Regions from separate parts of the Homo sapiens genome. Here region 1 is linked to region 2. The links are contacts of gene promoters, found by promoter capture Hi-C in human tissues and cell types (Jung and others, 2019). All regions are on one chromosome and are shown on one strand. Each heading gives the region's core, a stretch centred on a gene start or on the middle of the fragment in contact. The rest is flanking DNA. Distances are from core to core; before and after follow the strand shown. Region 1 has its middle 9.9 kb from the start of SLC22A11. Region 2 holds the start of SLC22A12 (solute carrier family 22 member 12).

The links. Contacts are between HindIII fragments. The study calls those that stand out against the background at their distance.
Region 1: a contact is called between a fragment that was not itself captured here and the fragment with the promoter of SLC22A12 in region 2, in 1 of the 25 tissues and cell types used here (liver).

What each region holds. Positions count from the first base shown.
Region 1 is chr11:64,543,640-64,548,429 of GRCh38, forward strand. No RefSeq gene overlaps it. Among named protein-coding and RNA genes, the nearest start is that of SLC22A11, 9.9 kb to the right of the region's middle. The HindIII fragment of the contact is 7,372 bases long and covers 1-4,790 here.
Region 2 is chr11:64,588,624-64,592,960 of GRCh38, forward strand. SLC22A12 (solute carrier family 22 member 12) reads left to right here and starts at 2,597. Exons shown (of 10, transcript NM_144585.4): 1 at 2,597-3,335; 2 at 4,156-4,259. The coding sequence starts at 2,934. The HindIII fragment of the contact is 41,401 bases long and covers 1-4,337 here.

The DNA.
Region 1 (4,790 bases), core at 1,421-3,920, 45 kb before region 2:
CGTGGGAAACATAGTAAGACCCAATCTCTATTATTTTTTTTTTTTAATTAGCTGGGCATGGTGGCTGCATCTGTAGTCCCAGCTACTAGGGAGGCTGAGGCAGGAGGATTGCTTGAACCCAGGAGTTTGAGGCTGCAGTGAGCCATGATGGCACCACTGCACTCCAGCCTGGGCAACAGAGTAAGACCCTGTCAGAAAGAAAGAAAGGAAGAAAGAAGAAAGAAAGAAAGAAAGAAAGAGAGAGAAAGGAAGGGAGGGGAAAGAAAGAAAGAAAGGAAAGAAAGAAAGAAAGAAAAGGAAAGGAGGGGAAAGAAAGAGAGAGAAAGGAAGGGAGGGGAAAGAAAGAAAAAAGAAAAGAAAGAGAAAAAAGAGAGAAAGAAAGAAAAAGAAAGAAAGAGAGAGAAAGGAAGGGAGGGGAAAGAAAGAAAAAAGAAAAGAAAAAGAAAGAAAAAAGAGAAAAAGAAAGAGAGAAAGAAAGGAAGGAAGGAAGAAAGAGAGAGAGAGAGGAAAGGGAAGGGAAGGGAAGGAAAAAGATGAATGAAGGCCAAGGTAACCTATAAATTGCAAGAGTTATGGTGGACATTTAATGTACAAACCTACCTCCATTCTTGGAGTTTAGACATTTCACCAGGCATGTGCCAATTTTTCATCCTTGCTACCCAAAGCTACTGGGATGTTGCAGTCTAAACGTTTCCATCTTCTTCAGCTCAGAGGTCCTTTCTTTTCTTCCTTTTCAACTCTTTGTGCTTTTGCACTGGGTTCCAGGAAACTCCTTTGTCATGAACTTCCAGGTCACTGTATTCCCCTCATTATTCAATCTATTAATTAGTGGTTTCAGAATTTGCCCATCAAGTTGACAATTTCCAAAACTGAAAAGATTTCCTTTTCTCGGGAACCTATTTCTTTTAAAAAATTGATGTCCTCTCAAATTTCCCTGGAAATAGAAACTACAGCGGTTTTACCTTTTTCTTCTGTTTACTGCATTACTTCATCGTCCTCCTGTGTTGGTTCTTTTGTTTGTTGAGTTTGGTGTCTCTCTTTTGGTGCATTGGATTCTTGCATTTTTAGTGTTTCTTTGTTGCCTCTTCATATTTGAAGATGGTGGGGGGAGGGATATGGACAAAATTGTTTCCTAGAATGTCCTTCCTCAGGCTAAGTGGGAATTCCTGTTGGCTTAGCCATGCATGAAAGCTTTGTGCTGGAGAACCCTGTCTACAGTGATTGTGACGTGTGGGCAAGTGAAAGAGGCCTGTGGCCAGGAGGCACTGGTGGATCTGATTTTCTGAGTAAAGGGTTCTGCTTCCCCATGGGATCCTTAAGTTGCCTGGGGTGCTGCCCTTTTTCTCTGGCCTACCATGCAGTTTCAGAACTCCATTTAGCTGTTCTTGCACCTTGACCTCCAGGCAAACATGGAATTCAATGCCAAGTGGTGTTTGGTGGAGGGAGGGTGGGGCACAGTCAATCTGCTCACCCTGATGCTGTTAATTACCCAGATGTTCTTGGCCTGTGCCCACACTGCAGCCTCTCACCTAGTGCTGTCCTCCTAGGAAGGCTCAGGTGTTTGGGCCTCCTTTCCCTCCTGCATGTGGTGCAGGTCCCTTGGTCTGAGGTTTCATTGTCCATCTGTCCCATGATCTTTATGTCTTATGCAGATTCTTTCCCTAGTTTTCCATTTCTCACCTTTCCCATGCTGCTCTGGGACTGCCAAACTATTTCCTTTCTGGATCCACTTGGATTTGGTTGGAGGAGGTAAATGAGTGCCCCACTAGCCATCCTGAACCGTGAGCCCCTCCATGTCCCTGGGAAAACAGAGAGCTGTTTGACCCAGGAGACCTGTGTGACCCAGAGCTTCGGGTTCTTGCACCTCTTGGGCGATGTCACCCAGTAGGTTCCTTAAGGGCAGGATCCTTAGTTGGCAAAGAAGTGGCTGAGTGAACTCAGTCTGTAGCTAGGTTGAGACCAATGAAGAGAAGGGTCTGAAGTCTACCTGCCGCCAGGGCAAGGGCGCATATGTCAGGAAGAGTGGGAAGGGGGGCTGGGGAGAACGTATGCCCCCAGGCTTCTGCCTCTCCAGTTGTCTGCGCAAAGAACAAATCCTAGTGCGCTGTGGCAGGGGCGGCACGTCTGTTTGCTCTCACGTGCCACTCCGTTCCTTGCTCCATTGCCTGATGATGCAGAGGATAGGAATGGACTTGGCCATGGCGCGCTGCCAGCCTGCATGGTGACACACATCCCCTCGCTTATTCAGCAAGCACTGAGTAGGCACCTCCAGTGTGCAGGCAGGGCTCAGGCACCAAGGGGTTTAGTGATATGCGTTCCCATCTGCAAGGAGCTTATATTTCGACGGAGAGGCTGCCATGGAAATAAACATAAAGTCCCTCTTGGAAACCCCTTCCGAGGAGATAGAAGGTGTGGAATAGTCGTGGCTGTGGAGAATGGTCAAGGCCAGGGCGTCTTAAACTTCAGTGGGCACACAGATCACTTGGGGCTCTTAGTAAATGCAGATTCTGATTCTGGAGGTCTGGGTTGGGATCTGAGATTCTGCCTTTCTAAAGAACTCACAAGTGACATTGATGCTGCTGGTCCATGGACCACACTTTGAGTAGCAAGGGTAGAGGGAAGCCCCAGCTTCCTGCCATGTCCTGATGCTGTCCTGTGGGTGCTGGGGGCACCTGTGGGAACCCACCAGGAACTGCTGCTCCGGAGGCCTCTGAAAGAGGCCCTGTCCCAACCCCAGGCCCAGGGGCAGGCTGGAGGCCGGTTTGCAGGTCAGCCTGGGCTGCAGGTCCCCCACTGCCCTTCATGCTGCTCCAGAGGAAAAGTGCTGGGAGGTGGCTTTGCCTGGACAGGACACAACCCAGCAGCTGTGGACTTGGTCAGGGAAGACCTCTCTTCAGAATTTTGGGGATTGGCTCTGTTCTTGGGGGAGGCCTGGGTCAGATGATGTTCTGTAGCCGTCCACACAGCCCTGGGGCTTCAGAGCTTGTAGTAGGGTCCTCGTGAGCACTGAGTGAGACCTCCGCAGGAAGCTAACACAGGGTGGGTGCCCAGGGACCCTTGGGTGTCTTGGGGGCCAGATGACTCAGCAGCAGTCACTGCTGCCATCGGGCTTGGCTCTCTCAGGTCACTCAGGGTCAAGGTAAAGTCTCCAGGCAACTGGAGAGTCATGCCCTGCTGCCCATGACAGTGGCTCAGGGCCAGGTCAGATGTGGCCATCCTCGGGACCATGCTGGGAACTGTCTCCCTAACCAGGGAGCTCTGGGGCTCCTTTCAAGGTAGCGAAGGATGCTGAGCCATAGTTAATAGGCTTACAGGTTAATCCAGCATGTGACCAGGACAGGCGTGTGCTTCGGCGGGTGGAGGTCAGGATGCTGCCCCCTTACCAAAAAGAGATGCTCTGAAGTTCTGGAACTCTGTGCATGCCATTGAGATCGCCACAAGAGCCGGTGAGACTTTGCTAGGACCATGAGGCACTCTAGGCAGTCCCTGCCCATCCACCTCTGGGCTGGAGTGCAGTGGCACGATCAGGGCTCACTGCAACCTCCACTTCCCAGATTCAAGCAATTCTCCTGCCACAGCCTCCCAAGTAGCTGGGACAGGCGAGTGCTACCATGCCCAGCTAATTTTTGTATTTTTAGTAGAGATGGGGTTTCACCATGTTGGCCAGGCTGGTCTTGAACTCCTGGCCTCAAGAGATCTGCCTGCCTTGGCCTCCCAAAGTGCTGGGATTACAGGCGTGAGCCACTGTGCCTGTTCCCCACCTCTTTAAAATGTATTGAATTCACATTCTCCTCACCATCTCCACAGTCTGTGCCCCGTTCAGGCCAGGAAAAGCCTCTTCCTGGTTCTCCTCTCTGTAGCCCTGTCTCATCTGAGCCCACCTTACATTTTCATCCACCTGAGACATTCTCCTAGTAATCAGACCCTCCTCCCCCATCTTTCCTGGTCTGGCCTTGGGGCCTTTGCATGTGCTGTTCTTGCTCCCGGAACACCCATCCTCACCTCCCCACACCCTTTCAAACCGGTGCTTTCTCTCAGCTCTTTCTTCTCTGTACTTCCTAGTTATGTTTCTGGCCTTTGTCTTGTGGTGTGTTGGGTTGGCTGATATTGCATGATCAGCCCTGATGCAGTGGTTTTTACATCCGTCTCCCCACTGGACGAACCTCCTTGCTGGTTCACCTTGGGTCTCCAGGGCCCAGCATGGGGCCTGGAACCTTGTACACCTTTAATACATGTTTGTGGAGCTGACACGATGATGAATTCTTTCACAACTTTCAGATGTGTATCTGTTAGGTGGAAGGAAATTGCTGGGAAACAATTTTCAGAACTAAGTGCATTTGCCGTTGCGCTTGGAGAAGCCATTTAACTTCTCTGAGCCTCACTACCCCACCAGACACCCACCCGTGCAATTGTCCTGAGCATGACCGGGGCGGGGGGTGGTGCCAGTGATCAGCAGGGGGCAGGCTTGTCATTGCAGGGCTGCCACTAACCAGCTGTCGCACCCCACCAAAGAGGGTTGGGAACCCTGCGTTAAGTTGGGTCCCCTCCAAAGCCAATATGAAATAAAGATTTGAATGTAAGTCATTTATTTGGGAGGCGATCCCAGGAGGCACTGGTAGGGGAAATGAGATGGGGAATGGAAGAAAGTCAACAACGGGTGTGGCATCAAGCAAGTTACTGTTGTGAGCAACTTGGGCCAGGGAGCTGGGGTATTGACCCACCAGGTCCCGACAGTCACTGAGTGGAGGCTACTCTGTGGGTGCTAAGTCCCCAACACTAATTCTGTCTTG
Region 2 (4,337 bases), core at 1,347-3,846:
GGTCATCTATTGAGAGAGAGGATAGAAGAGAAGGTGGTAGGTTTGAAGAGAGAAGATGGTATCAAATAACCCCTGGTTTGTGTGTTCAAATATAAGGGTAACAGAAATAAAACGTACAACTGACAGACCAAGACAGTAGAAGAATATAACAAGAAAACTTAATGGATTCAGTAGAAATTAGGAACAAGGAAACCAAGATTTAAAGGGAAAATGTGGTAAACAAGAAAACATACAGTAAGTCCAAACATGTCAATAATTACAATAAATGTGAACAGGTTAAAATCGCTAATTAAAAGGCAGAGGTATTTCTTTTGGATTTTACAAAAGGAAATGTAAAGCTTATTTGGCAGCTCAAGCTGATGAAGCTAAACATATCAGTTACTAAAACAAAGTCTGCACATATTTACACCAAACTGTAAACAGTAGTGTAACTCACTGGTTGATGAGTATATGAGGGATCTTTATTTTCATTTCAATATGTTCTGAATTTTTGAGGAAGTGTGTAAATTATTTCATAATTAGAAAATAAATGAAATTTTTAAAAAAATCATCCATGCACTTCAGCAAGTCTCCATGGAACCTTTATTTGTTGTCCAAATCAGTTCCAAAGAGCCTCTAAAGAAGGGTTCCAGACTACCAGGAGCTCACTGGAAATAAGACCAACTGGACCATAATAGAAGAATGCAGGTCATGGCTGGGTGCCGCAACTCACACCACTTTGGGAGGCCAAGGCAGGCAGATCACCTGAGGTCAGGAGTTTGAGAAGAATGCAGGACAGTGTAAAGATGAGATTCCACTGACAACTCTGAGCCCTAGTTGTAGGCAGGAATAAGTGAAGAGAGCCCGCTGGAGGAGGAGTATTTGGACTGTGCCCATTCCACACAGTATGTGGCCTAAGGGTGAGCCTGGAGACAGCATTCCAGGCTGGAGGTCCAACATAAGCAAGGGTGGGAACTGAGAAAGCATGTACAGGGCATGTGGTGGAAGCAGTGGATGACTCAAGGTGCAGAGCCCAGGGAGGCAAAGAAGTTGGCTTGGTAAGCCATGTGGAGGGGCAGCGGGAAGAGTCGGTGAAGCAAAAAGAAGCAGATGGGAGGGGCATTTATGCCTCAAATGGAGAGTTTTATGCCCAAAGCTCATAAGAGCAAACACCTGGGTTGCCATCACTGCTGCACTGCACATATACGCATGCACACATGTACACACATGCACTTGTGCAAACACATGTGCACACATACACAGACATGTGCACACACCCACATATACATACACTTCTTTTTTTTCTTTTCTTTTTTTTTTTTTTTTTGAGATAAGAGTCTTTCTCTGTCAACCAGGCTGGAGGGCAGTGGTGCAATCTCAGCTTGCTGCAACCTCTGCCTCCTGGGTTCAAGAGATTCTCCTGCCTCAGCCTCCCAAGTAGCTGGAATTACAGCTGTGCACCACGACCATGCTCAGCTAACTTTTGTATTTTTAGTAGAGATGGGTTTTTGCCATGTTGGCCAAGCTGGTCTTGAACTCTTGACCTCAAGTGATCCCCCCACCTCGGCCTCCCAAAGTGCTGGGATTACAGGCATGAGCCACCACGCCCGGCCATGCACACACACTTTTTAACTGCTTTGTGTTCTCTGGCCCTTTCGCCTACAGAATTAGCTATCGAGACCAAGGGGGTTCTCTTGGCCTCGGTCCAGCCTTTCCTGAACCCCACACCCTGCATCAGCACACACTGCTGTCCACTCACCTGCCCTAGTAAGTCACCACTAGCTGTTGTTGACTGGGAGCCCCTTGGCTTTTAAGCAGGATTTGACCCAAGGGCTCGCAGTGCGTGGTGGGTCCAGGGGCAGGAGTTGAGGCAGAAAGACAAGGGCAGGGACAGCTGTGGAGTGGGGGAGGTGGGAGAGAGAAATCCTTAGGAGGCAAAACTAGCCAGGCTTGGCCCCTGGTGGATTTGGGAGGCAGGGAGCAGGAGGCGTGAACCAAGACGCTGGGTTCCAGGCCAGACACTGTGACATGAGAGGCCATAGCTGAGGTGGGGCTCTGCAGGAGGCATAGATTTGGGGAGGGGACAGAGATCTCAGGGTGGCATTGGGCACACCGAACCTGGGGAGTCTGTGGGGTGTCTGTTGATGCTGGGAAGCTCCACCGAGGACTCAGGACAGGGTAACAGCAAAGCGGGCACAGGACGCCAACCACAGCAGGTGAGTGGAGGCAGGAGCCACGGGTGGGGCCAGGCCACACAGCCTGGGAGGCGCAGGGGCTGGGCAGCTGCCAGTGACCCAAGCCCACACAGAGACTTGCACAGCTGCCCCAGCCCCAAATTAGGGGGATCCCCTGGCCCACCTTCTCTTGGCTCAGCCACTCTGGGAGGTGGGCACACAGGGGCACCGAAGGGAGCAGGCAGCCCTGGCATCCCACAGCCGCCAGGAGAAAAACTTAGGCCTCCCCAAGACCTGGCACAGAGCAGGCCGGCCCTGGCCCCCAAGCAGAGGAGGCTGCACCTCCCTCGCGTCTGTGCCTGCCTCAACGCGGGTTAAACTTTGACCAAGGAAATGATTGCTAAACTCGATTCCATAAGTGTCACCGGTCACACTTTAATTCCAGTCTAAAATTAAAGTCTTCAGTCTCCACATTCCCTACTTTCCAAATTCAGCTTTCCCGGGAGGTCTGGAGCAGCTGCCTCTCTGGGGAGATGCTGGAGGTCTCGGAATCACCTCACGCGGCCTCAGGGCCCAGTTGGAGCCACCCCAAGTGACACCAGCAGGCAGATGACCAGAGAGCCTGAGCCTCCGGCCCCGAGTCTGTGAAGCCTAGCCGCTGGGCTGGAGAAGCCACTGTGGGCACCACCGTGGGGGAAACAGGCCCGTTGCCCTGGCCTCTTTGCCCTGGGCCAGCCTTTGTGAAGTGGGCCCCTCTTCTGGGCCCCTTGAGTAGGTTCCATGGCATTTTCTGAACTCCTGGACCTCGTGGGTGGCCTGGGCAGGTTCCAGGTTCTCCAGACGATGGCTCTGATGGTCTCCATCATGTGGCTGTGTACCCAGAGCATGCTGGAGAACTTCTCGGCCGCCGTGCCCAGCCACCGCTGCTGGGCACCCCTCCTGGACAACAGCACGGCTCAGGCCAGCATCCTAGGGAGCTTGAGTCCTGAGGCCCTCCTGGCTATTTCCATCCCGCCGGGCCCCAACCAGAGGCCCCACCAGTGCCGCCGCTTCCGCCAGCCACAGTGGCAGCTCTTGGACCCCAATGCCACGGCCACCAGCTGGAGCGAGGCCGACACGGAGCCGTGTGTGGATGGCTGGGTCTATGACCGCAGCATCTTCACCTCCACAATCGTGGCCAAGGTAGGGCCTCCCCCAGAGCCACTCGAGTCCCACCACCTTGGAGGTCAGTCATGGATCACGGTGGGTCAGACTCAAAGGTCCAGTCCTGGGAGGGACCCACCTCCCCAGGCCCCACTCACTCTCGAGCCTCTCAGCCCCTCGTCAGCCACACACAGGGAAGTGGGCGGCAGGGATCAGTCTACAAATGGGGCCAGCCCAGGCTCTTGGAGGTGCGGGGGGCACCTGGGCGGGCACCTCTAAATGCTGGCACCTGGACACTCACCGGCCTCACCCTGTCCTGGCCCTGCTGACCTGTCAGCCGTGACTCCAGGCAACTCAGCAGCAGGGGGACTCAGTGACAATTCACTGGATTCCCCGAGACCAAAGCACACAGAGTAAGGGATTACCCCAGGCTGCCTCCCAGATGGGGCGCCAGGCAAAGCCAGGCAAGCAGAGAGGGGCAGCTCATCCCAACAAGTGGGAAGAACCTCTTTATAAAGAACAGGAGGGAAGCAACCTCTGGGAGAGGGGTGAGGGTGTCAGCTTGGGTGGCTGCTTCCAAGTGGAGAGACAGGAGAGAGGGGCAGATGTGGCTAGAGACCCATTGGGCAATAGGGAGCCATGGAAGAGTTCAGGCAGAGGGTGGCAGGATATACTCCTCAAAAGGCCAAACTATGCCTGTGGGTGCCCTCACTGTTCCACAGGGTCTTGCTCTAAAACCCTAGAGGTCACCAGACCACCCACCGCACCCAGCTCCCTGGGGGCCCTCCCATGCGGTTCCTCTGCCTCTCTGCTGGGGCTCTCCCAACCTCCTGAGCTCAGCCTCCTCCTCTCCCATCAGTGGAACCTCGTGTGTGACTCTCATGCTCTGAAGCCCATGGCCCAGTCCATCTACCTGGCTGGGATTCTGGTGGGAGCTGCTGCGTGCGGCCCTGCCTCAGACAGGTGAGTACCCCCAGTCCAGGCAGGTCCCAGTTCCCCTCACAACCCCTGCTCTCCTAGGACCCTGGCCGACTGGCCCCA